Linked DNA regions of Homo sapiens: region 2 is linked to region 1. The links are contacts of gene promoters, found by promoter capture Hi-C in human tissues and cell types (Jung and others, 2019). All regions are on one chromosome and are shown on one strand. The core of a region is centred on a gene start or on the middle of the fragment in contact, and the rest is flanking DNA. Distances in the headings are between cores, read along the strand shown. Region 1 overlaps TTBK2 (tau tubulin kinase 2). Region 2 holds the start of VPS39 (VPS39 subunit of HOPS complex).

What was found. Contacts are between HindIII fragments. The study calls those that stand out against the background at their distance.
Region 2: the fragment with the promoter of VPS39 here is called in contact with a fragment that was not itself captured in region 1 in 1 of the 25 tissues and cell types used here (dorsolateral prefrontal cortex).

The regions. Positions count from the first base shown.
Region 1 is chr15:42,913,858-42,919,306 of GRCh38, forward strand. All of the region lies in intron 1 of TTBK2 (tau tubulin kinase 2), which reads right to left. Among named protein-coding and RNA genes, the nearest start is that of TTBK2, 4.2 kb to the right of the region's middle. The HindIII fragment of the contact is 6,776 bases long and covers 1-5,449 here.
Region 2 is chr15:42,205,170-42,210,618 of GRCh38, forward strand. VPS39 (VPS39 subunit of HOPS complex) reads right to left here and starts at 3,135. Exons shown (of 25, transcript NM_015289.5): 1 at 2,912-3,135. The coding sequence starts at 2,984. It overlaps VPS39-DT (VPS39 divergent transcript), which reads left to right and starts at 3,232. Exons shown (of 3, transcript XR_932181.3): 1 at 3,232-3,515; 2 at 3,595-3,748. It overlaps TMEM87A (transmembrane protein 87A), which reads right to left. Exons shown (of 20, transcript NM_015497.5): 20 at 5,278-5,449. The HindIII fragment of the contact is 8,677 bases long and covers 1-5,449 here.

The DNA.
Region 1 (5,449 bases), core at 1,157-3,656:
TACTATAACCAAATCAACCGAGCAAAGCATTATGTCTATGATCTTCCCACTAACACAAAGAAAAATCAATACAGAACCTTTTCTGTATCTTCACTGCAATAACATTTTAAGTATATTAACTTCCTTTTTTTTTTTTTGAGATGGAGTTTTGCTCTGTCACCCAGGCTGGAGTGCAATGGTGCTGTCTCGACTCACTGCAACCTCCACCTCCCGGATTCAAGCGATTCTCCTGCCTCAGCCTCCCAAGTAGCTGGGACTACAGGTGCGTGCCACCATACCCGGCTAATTTTTATATTTTTTAGTAGAGACAGGGTTTCACCATATTGGCCAGGCTAGTCTCAAACTCATGACCTCGTGATCTGCCCGCCTCAGCCTCCCAAAGTGCTAGGATTATAGGCATGAGCCACCACGCCTGGCCTTAACTTCCTTTTTCAAAAACAGCAAAACTGGCCAGCCACAGTATAATATAATATATCCTAATATATTATATCCTAATCACTTGTACATTTAATGAATCACCGATAAGCTGCTGGACCCTAGCTACAGAGACACTATAGCCATCTACTTGGAACACCTCTTTCTTGTAACCATGGCTTGTACTCTGGCTTCTGGTAACACAGTCCTAAGTTCTCATGGTTCAAACAGAGAGTGTAAAACCATAACATAGGAACTCTGTCAGTATTCAAGTAATTGAGGCTTGGGAGAATCCAAAGTAGAAACCCATATTGGAGGGAGAGTGGGGACTCTTTAGGACAAAACTCTTTCAAGTGTTCTTGTGTTCTGAAAGAACTTGTCTAAAGCTGTTTCATGGGTTGTGTGGACATTTAATTTCAAATAGTCTTTTAAATTTAAAAACATTTATTTTGTCATTATTTATTTAATTATTTAACTAATTATAGGGATAATATATCCACTAGCCTCTGACTCTGGTGAAGTATGTAGAATGAACTGTGGCTGATGAAACAGAAACTTCTTCCCTGAACCCACCTCTTGACTGTTAGGTCTGTTAAATGCTCATGTCTGCATCTTCCCTTCATAATACCTGGAACACTTGTAATTCCTTCTCCTGCAAATCTCTGCTTCCACTATTTGTAAGCTCCAAAAGTGAGTAGATTATTTGTCTTGTTGGCTGTTAAATCTCCAACCCCTAGCACAGTAACATGGTAGATGCTTAGCAAGTATTTAATCAAGGAATGAGGCTACTGTTACACAGTAATCCCCCTTATCCATGGTTTCACTTTCTGCAGTTTCAGTTACCCGTGGTCAACCACAGTCCAAAAATATTAAATGGAGAATTCCAGAAATAAACAATTCATACGTTTTAAATTGTATATTGTTTTGAGTATGGTGATGAAATCTCAAGCTGTTCAGCTCTGTTGCACCTAGGACGTGAACCATCCCTTTGTCCAGCATGTATCTGCACCGTCTGTGCTGTTTGTCACTTAGTAGCCATCTTGGTTGTTAGATCACTGTCTCAGTATAGCAGTGCTTGTGTTCAAGTAACTAACTCTTATTTTACTTAATAATGGCCCTAAAACACAAGAGTAGTGATGCTGGCATATTACGATAACTGTTCTATTTTATTAGCTATTGTTATTATTCCCTTACTATGCTTAATTTATAAACTTTATCACAGCCATGTATGTATAGGAAAAGCATAATTATCTATAGGGTAAGGTACTATCTGAGGTTTCAGGCATCCACTGGGGGTCTTGGAATGCATGCCCCTTAGATGGGGATGACTACAGTAGTTTAAAGTTTCACAGAGACCAAAGTAAGGTGGTAGCAATGGAAATAAAATGCAGAGGGCTAGGCATTGTGCCTCATGCCTATAATTCCTGCACTTTGGGAGGCTGAGGTGGGAGGATTGCTTGAATTCAGGAGTTCAAGACCAGCCTGGGCAACATAGTGGGACCCCACCTATACAAAAAATTGTAAAATTAGCCAAGTGTGGTGGCACATGCCCGTAGTCCCAGCTACCCAGGAGGCTAAGGGGGGAGGACTGCCTGATCCCAGGAGGTCAAGGCTGCAGTGAGCTACGATCATGGCACTCCAGCCTGGGCAACAGAGCAAGACCCTGTCTCCAAAAAAAGAAAGAAAGCAGAGGTTTTGTGTGGGTGAGATCCAGGAGAAATAGGGAGCAAAAAGAAAAAAGAAAAAAGAAAAGAGAGAGAGAGAATGTGTGTTTTGATCCTGTATGACTAAATGATAATGCCTTTATTTATAGAATTAAGGAAGTTAAAAAGAGAACTGACTATTATCTTGGATATGTTGAATTTTTTAAGTGCTAGGGAAGTCCAGCAGAAATGAAGTCCTAATCTAGTTTATTATCTACCATATAATTTAGCCTCCAGATGATTTTTCTTAAATCAAATTTCCATGAGAGGCAAGGCTCACATTTTTTTCTTTGGTTATTCATTTTTTCCTATTTTCCTCCCCTCATCTTCGCCTTATTGGTCATTGAAAAATGTTTTTTGTTTTTGTTTTTGATACAGAGTTTCACTCTGTCACCCAGGCTGGAGTGCAGTGGCACAATCTTAGCTCACTGCAACCACCGCCTCCGGGTTCAAGCAATTCTCCTGCCTCAGCCTCCCAAGTAGCTGAGATTACAGGTGCATGCCACCACATCCTGCTAATTTTTCTATTTTTAGTTGGGATGCGGTTTCGCCACGTTGGCCAGACTTGTCTCCAACTCCTGACCTCAAGTGATTCAATTACCTACCTTGGCCTCCCAAAGTGCTAGGATTACACGTGTGAGCCACCACACCCGGCTGAAAAATGGTGATAAAACTTTTAGATATTTTTGAAACTGAAGCACTTGGAGGATCAAGAAATTTAAAAAGACTTTACAAACTTCATCTATAATATATAACGTGGAAAATTCAATGTTGGAAAAATATGAACAAAATATAGTCTTTCAATGATCATATGGCTAGAACAAGATGATGGAAACTGCAACTCCATTTTTTTAAAGGCAACTACTTTGAAACTGCAGAAAGAAAAAGACAAATATAAAAATATTAATTATAAAACCATTTTGGTAAAAACATATATAATGGCAAATATGTTTTCTAATTCAAACATTTTAAAATGCTGATTCTTGTTTTCAATAAAGATGTTAATTCTCTGTTTAAAAAAATAATGATTCTGAAAACATGGTTAAATCTCGATAGCTTACCAAAGGAAGCTAAGAAGCTACTTAGTAACTTCCACTCTTTAGGAGGCACTATTACATCCCAGATTCTTTTCAAAGGACACTTAAGTTTTTCACATTGGGAAGCTTTACCCTAACTGAAGTGAAAGCAAATTCCTATATACAATAAAAAACAGCTATAAACACTCCAAAACACCAAGGATTATAGAGACAAAGGTTAAAAAAAAAATCACAGGAAAAAAAATCCAAAATGTTCACAAAAGTTTGTAAGTACTATATGTTCACTTAAGCATCAAGAATAAAGTCACATGACATTAATGAAAATATACTAAGAAGGCTATTTAAAAATAACCAACTGAAAAGAAGAAACTATCTAGCAAAATTGACATTCATATTATGTTATAATATAATTTCAATCTGTATTATAAACCTATAATCAAGGATCACCAGACTTTAATGAGGCAGTTTTGAGTAGTAATATGTGTTGTCCTTATGCTCAAAATTTAGTTCTAAAAAACTGAATTTTTTCATATGACCTTAAAGGCTCTTTCACCAAATATGTACGATATTTAACTTGAAAGCTTTCAGTACTTTCGGCATAAAAGGTTCTATCCACTGAAGCCTGGGGAAAAAACTTCCACTACCACACATTGTTTACAATATGCTGGATGACAAAAAAAAAAAAGACTAGGAAATAAAACTAAATAAAATGTATTTAATTTCAAAAATCCATAAATATTGAAGGTATATTGCAATATTACTAATCAAACAGAAATAGCTCCAGCTACATTTTGAGTGTCTCTCAAAAACCTCAATAAGAACAAAAAATGAATACATGACTAGAGTAATTTTGAGTAGCATACCCTCAAATTGAAAACACTGTTTGCTATATATTTGTAAAAGAATATTTCCTATAGGATTTTTTTTTAAGTGTGGAAAGAAGTAAGCTATAGCTATATTTTCCATAATTCTCAAAGACTTTTTATTTTACTGATCAACACAGTCCTTACTAGATCAATAATGATCCTAAACACTTTCCCTTGTCATAGATTTGTATTTATTTATTTATTTATTTATTTCAAGAGATGGGGTCTTGCTCTGTCACCCAGCCTGGAGTGCAGTGGAGCGATCACAGATCACAGCAGCCTCAACCTCCGATCCACCCCCTCAGTCTCCCTAGTAGCTGGAACCACAGGTGTGAGCCACCATGCCCGGCTAAATTTTTGTTTGTTTTTTGTAGAGACAGGATCTCCCTGTGTTACTTAGGCTGGTCTCAAACTCCTGGGCTCAAGCGATCCTCCTGCCTTGGCCTCCCAAAGTGCTGGGATTACAGGCATGAGGTTTTTTTTTTTAAAGCAGCAAACATTTATTATCTCACACAGTTTCTCAGGATTCGAATCTGAAAGTGTCTTAGGTAGGTGGTTCTGGCTCAGAGTCTCTCATGAGTTGCAATCAAGCAGTCATCTGGATATGTTACTTTTTAAAGTTATAAAGCATATAAAAAAGTGGCTGCCCCCCACCAAAGTGAAATTTAAATTCCATGATCACAGCTAACTCGGATCTGTAATATTCATTTACTTTGAAAAACCAATAACTTATCATTGCCACATTTTTAGTGCACTTTTTAGAAGTAAAATACGCTCGAAAATGGTCTAAATTATGCAAACTTCCCTTCTAGTATTACATTTAAAGATACTTGAAGCCCCACATAATTGAGTTCAATTTGCTAAAGCAAATGAGGTCTAACCTCTTGAAGATTTCCTGAAGTATTAAAATAATCAACACTTAAAATCAAAAGAAGATACAACAATCTAAAGTCATATATAATGCAATAGAGAATTTACTAAATTATGTATTAACCATAGTACAAGATAATGAGCAAGATATATTATTCTCAGCCCCCTAACCAATGTACAAATTTGCATCAACTTGATATTATATATTAAATTAATGAAGTTATGGACTTTAATTTCTTCTGTGTCTAAAACTGGAAGAGGGAAGAAAGCATTTCCTAACATTCTATCATAAAAGAAAAATGTTAAGAGAAACTTTCCTTTAAAACCATGCTTCATATGTCCCCTTCGGTGTCTTGATAAAATGTTATCATACAGGAAAACATAAGCTTCTAAATCAAAGATTTCCTTCAATGTTTTCAATTTGCATAGATCACAATATAACACACACATTATTTGAAACATTTTTTGACTTCAGACAAATGCCTCAAGATTAATCATATTAAGCTATATTTGTCATCATTACTGCTTCTTTATTTAAAAAAAAAAAGGAAATAAAGCA
Region 2 (5,449 bases), core at 1,885-4,384, 710 kb before region 1:
TACTGCAGATATAGCAATGCAGAAAACAAAGATACTGCCCTGAGGGAACTTATATTCTAATGTGGAGTGAGAGAGGCAATAATAATTAAATATATAAAATAACAGTAGATGGTGACCCATGATTAGAAGATAAGGCTAAGAAAACAGCACATTGGTGGATGTGGCAATCTCTTTTATATAGGATACACAGGGAAGGTTTTGCTGATTTGGGTGACATTTCAGCAGAGAACTGAGTGAAATGAGGAATGAACCATATATACAAAGGCAAGTGAGTGCCAGGCCAAGGAAACAGCAAATGTAAAGGCCCTGAGGTGGGTATGTGCTTTGTGCATTGATGGAACAAAGAAGGCTGTGTGGGACTGGTACCAGAAAGGAGTGAGAGGTAAGTACACAGAAGACAGGGAAGAAATCAGGGCCTGATCATGTCAGATGTTGCCAGACAGGGTGAAAACTTTGGAACTTATTCTAGTTGTGATGTGATACCATGAGAGGGTTTTGAGTAGAGGATGGAATCAGATTTAGGTTTTCAAAGTTTCACTCTACCTGGTAGACAAAAAACTGAAAATGGCACACTGGCAAATATAGGGTGATCAATGAGAAGACTACTACAGTAATTCAGGTGACAGATGATGGTGCCTTCAAGAGTAGTAATCATCAAGATAGAGAGAAATGACTGGATTTCAGATTTATTCTAGGGGTAGAACACACAAGATTTGCTGATAGATGGGATACAGTGTAAAACAGAATGAAAGAAGTCAAGAACGATTCCAAAGCTTTTGGCTTTAGTCAAAGAGGTAAATAGAAATGCCACTTGCTGAGACGTAAGATACAGGAGGACAGGCATGTTTGAGGGGAGAGGAATCAAGAACGGTTTTGGCTATGCTACTGGACATCCAAATGAAGATGCTGAAAAGGCAGCAGGATTATACAACTTTGGAGTTTAGAAAGAAATCATCCTCATCATGTTCTCTCCTGATTTCTATTTCCCAGGAGACAGAGTATGTTGTCTCTAAGACATTTACACCTCAAATACTATTTGGCCCTGTGTGACCTGCCTCTGGAAGTTCCTGGACGAACTTTCCATCCAAAGGCACAATGTAGTTAAAAAGGGGTAATGACTAGAAAGAGCAATAATTACTGCTGCTCAAATCTGGAAATAAAGCACTTTTGAAGCAGGAGGCAGTTAATGGCCTCTTGTAACCTAATATGTACCTAAGCACCTTAGGAACCAAAGAGCATTTCTCCTGTTCGGTGGGTGATCAAGGAAGGCCAAAAGCTACCTATTGTTTCAAAACTGTGTTCCTGAAAACCACAGGTGCAAGGAATCTTTACTGTGACAAAGTGGAGTTGGTGAGAGTCTAGGAGCACTATGTGCTAATGGTCCAACAGGAGATCAGAGTCAAGGATTCTGACGAGCTAAGTCAAGTGTAGCCACAGCTGCATTAATCCCTTTCAGAAACATATGTCCTTAGCTGAGTTGGGTACCCCCTCATCCATGTTGCAATAATAGGCAGCATATGTCTCTAGTATTATAATCTGTTCACGTGTATTTGTCCCCCAGTGTGTGTCCTAGGAGCACAGGCACTGTTTCTTATTCATCATTGTATTACTGTCCCAAGCAAAGAGAATGGCCCGTGTAGCCACCTAATAAGTATATCTGATGAAGCAATGGGGGAATTAATCCTTTCATGCAGTGTCAGGTCTTTCATTTAAAAACTTTTTCTCCTCCTCTATTTAAATGTTTAATGAGAGCATTTAATGACAGAAATTGGTTTTCTTGAGATGTCTGGAGGAAGTAGGATTCTCCTCTTAACCCAAAGGACTAGAACTGCTTACTGTGGAGGTATGATTTTAAAGAGACCCAGAGCTGCTAAAGGAGGAAGGGTGCACATTAACATGAAAATTCTTCGTGAAAGAACCCTACAGAAGAAGTCATCAAGAACTCTGCAAGGATGACTCGGTGACACTGTGAACAGCTGACGCACATGGTATCAGACACCACCAAGATTCCATAAGGCCCATCATGGTTACCTATCTAGCTCAGTATAAGATCTGATTAAGGGATCTGAATCATCTTTTTATGGTCCTTGATTTCTAGGACCTAAACATTAAGAGGAAAGTTAGAAATGATTTCCTTGGTCTTTGGCGGCTGGTATCAAACCAGTCACTCACGGATAAGAGCACAATGTTCACCGTTATCCCTGAAACCTTCATTTGTATTTCAGAGCACACAAGAGATGTCTGTCCCGGCCTTCTGCACTAGTCAATCCCAAAAGGACTATGCTAGTTTTTATGGGTTAGGTTTCAAGACAGTCTGGAAACTCTTCCGCCTACAGTTAGGTAACTTGGACACTTTGGATATAAGGTAATCAACCGCTTGGCTAGATTCAAAGGTTAGCTAACTACATGAGTTCCCTACAGGAATGAGAAATGAACGAATGATCACTAAGGGGAAAAAAAAGCATATGGTGTTAACTTGTTCAATGCCCCCAAAACCAGGGTTGACTTTCATCTAGAAAACAACACAAACATCTGGACAACTTCAAGCCCCTGGCAGGCTGAGAACTTCTTACTGCTTTGACCCTCTAAAATGAAGTCTTCGTGGGAATCAAAATGGGCCAAAGCTGAGCACAACTAAAAAGGAAAGCTCATCCTCCCACTCTGCACAGAGAGCAAAAGCAAGGGGAACTCCCCTAAATGACTGGATCACTGGGATCACCCAAGTAGCCCCACAGACATCGATGTCTATAGCCGGTGGTCATCTCTCTGCCTTCTCTCATCCTAAGCCCCTCTCGTGTAGCATCCAACCGAAGCCCACACGGATGGACGCCTGTCCACTTCCCCGGCCTCAGAAAAGATCCGGACCGCTCCTGTGCTGACTCCGCCTCGGCCCCGCGGCCCCTCGGCTCACCCCAGGCAGCCAGACAGTCGATTTGCAGAGGCAGCTTTTCTAGGATCGGCACTGGCTCGAAAGCGTCGTGCATGGCGGCAAGGGGAGAGTTGCCACCGCCGTCTCGCCCAGAGTGTTCCGGGCCGGGCTGGGGTCCGGAACGAGTCTGGGCTAAGGGTAGACCGGGATCCGGCCAGGAACCCCCCGGCTACAGGCCCTTCAACAACACAGCCATCGTCAACCCCGGACTTCCTGCTAGTTAGGCCCGCCTCTTCCGCAGCCGAAGTCCCGCCCCTTCCTCCCGGTGCACTCTAAATGAATTGTTTTGTTGCTGAGTTGCCATCGTCACTCTGGACCCATAGCTACTCCATCCCGAGTAGCCATGGGCTTACCATAGAAGGAACAAACTCTTAATCTTAGAACTGCTTTAGGCAGTGGGCGTGATGGTTAAAAACTCGGCCTTTGGCGTCGACCTCAGACGGAGATCTACCAATTAGGAAATTAGCTGTGATTTAGAAAATTTAATATTTCGATGCCATACTTTCCTAATCTGCAAAATTTTTGTAAATACCTGTGACCTAGTGTCGTGAGCGCTTAGCAACACCTGACACCCACTAAGCTCTCAGTAAGTGGTAGCTTTAGTATTACCATTATATCCCAATTAGTACAAGCACCTTACCTTAATGCTTTCATGGTTGTTCTAGGCCAGTGGTTCTGAAAGTGGTTCTAGACCAGCAACAACAGCAGTAGCAGCAGCACCTGTGAACTTGTTAGAAATGCAAAGTTTCAGGCCCATTCCAGTTCTACTGAATCTGAAACTCGAAGGGAACAGCAACCTATGTTTTAATAAACCCCAAGGTGAGTCCATGCACTTAAAAGCTTGAGAACCACCATTTTAGGTTAGGGTTGTTCAGCGATAGCACTACCGGCATTTAGGACAGGATAATTTCTTGTTGGGGGAGGGGGCATGTTCTGTACAATGTAAGATGTTTAACAGCATCCCTAACTTCCACCCACCAAATGCCAGTTATCTTCCCCACAGAGGTATAAAAATGTCTCTTTTCCGTATGTCCTCTGGGAGGCAAAATTACCCTGAGAACCACCATTTGAGGCCAATGCTTTTCAAATTTAACGTGCATACAAATCACCTAGAGACATTGTTAAAATGCCTCTTTTGATTCAGTAGGACCAGAGTAAGACCCTCAGTTGAGCACCAAAAATCTCCCAGATGTTGCTGGTCCCTGGATCACATTTTGAGTAGCAAGAGTTTAGGCAAGAGATGATTCACTAACTCTTGGAAGTCAGTGAAATAAGCCTCCTTTTAATTTGATGACCACATTCCTACCAATTCAACTTTCCAAAGCTGTGTCTTACATCCTAATATTCCTTTAGGAAGGTGTCATGGCTTTTCCTCCTATAGGACCTGGGACCTGTACTGTCTGCGGTTACCTTAGTATTCCCCTTGAAGACTTAAAAAACAACAAAGTTTGGGCTGCAAGAATGATCTATATCTGGTCATTTCCCCCTAGGAAAACATCGTAGGTCAAAAAATTAAGCATTTGGGTTTAAAGCAAAAATGTAAAAGAAAAAGGGTAAGTCTGTGATATGAAGTCAAAAAAACTGGTCCTGGTCATTTTATTTTTACACAATATCAGTTTCTTCATATGTAAATTAGGAATACTTGTCCCATCTTTACCAAATGCTGTTCTGATAATCAAGTGAAAAGTACTTTCAAGTAGTCAAAAACATGAAAATTGCTACACAAATCCTGTGTTATAGCTGATTTTCACCATAGAAGCTGATCACCTTCTTAAAAATTTAGAATTACCAGCTGTTGTGCTGGAAGGTCTAGTACCTTTTCGTTCAGGCCCAAAACCCTAAGGTTTATATTGTTTTACAGATTACTGCAAAGCTATCAATTTCTTCTGAACCTAAGAAATGACACACTATATCTATTCCCAGTAATACAGAAAGCTGTAAGTAGAATTATCAGGGCCCAGGCTATAGAACTTGAACTATACACTCCCGCTTAACACAATGGGCTTTTTTTTTTCCTAGTCTCAAGTCAACATCAAAGCAGCCTAAAAAAATAATTTGACCAACTATCCTGCTGCATTACAACTATTATTCATCTGCTACGTTTTAATATGCAATAGCAGCATGCAACAATACCACCAGCTTTTGGCTAATGACTTAGCATGAGAATATAGTCAGTTCTTCAGATTGCTGTTCCTCAGAGATACTTCCTAGGAAACTTTTTTAAAAATCACCATAGCAAAGAGTTGTAGAGAAACTACCTAAGGGTTAACACTTTCACTGCAGTATGAGTTAGTGAAGATTGTGGTCATGTGGTCATTGGTTTTAACAGAAAATAAGACAATCTAGAATAAAAGCCATAGAAAGAAATTTTTCATGAGTTTGACAGAAAGAGTCTTTAGAAAAAGTTTGAAAAAAATGAGAAAAATACATTAATTTTGTTAAATTTTTTTATATTAAAAAGTGGCATGAACTTTTTATGTAGAACAAAAATCTTGGGAAGGCAAAATTGGATAAAACCAT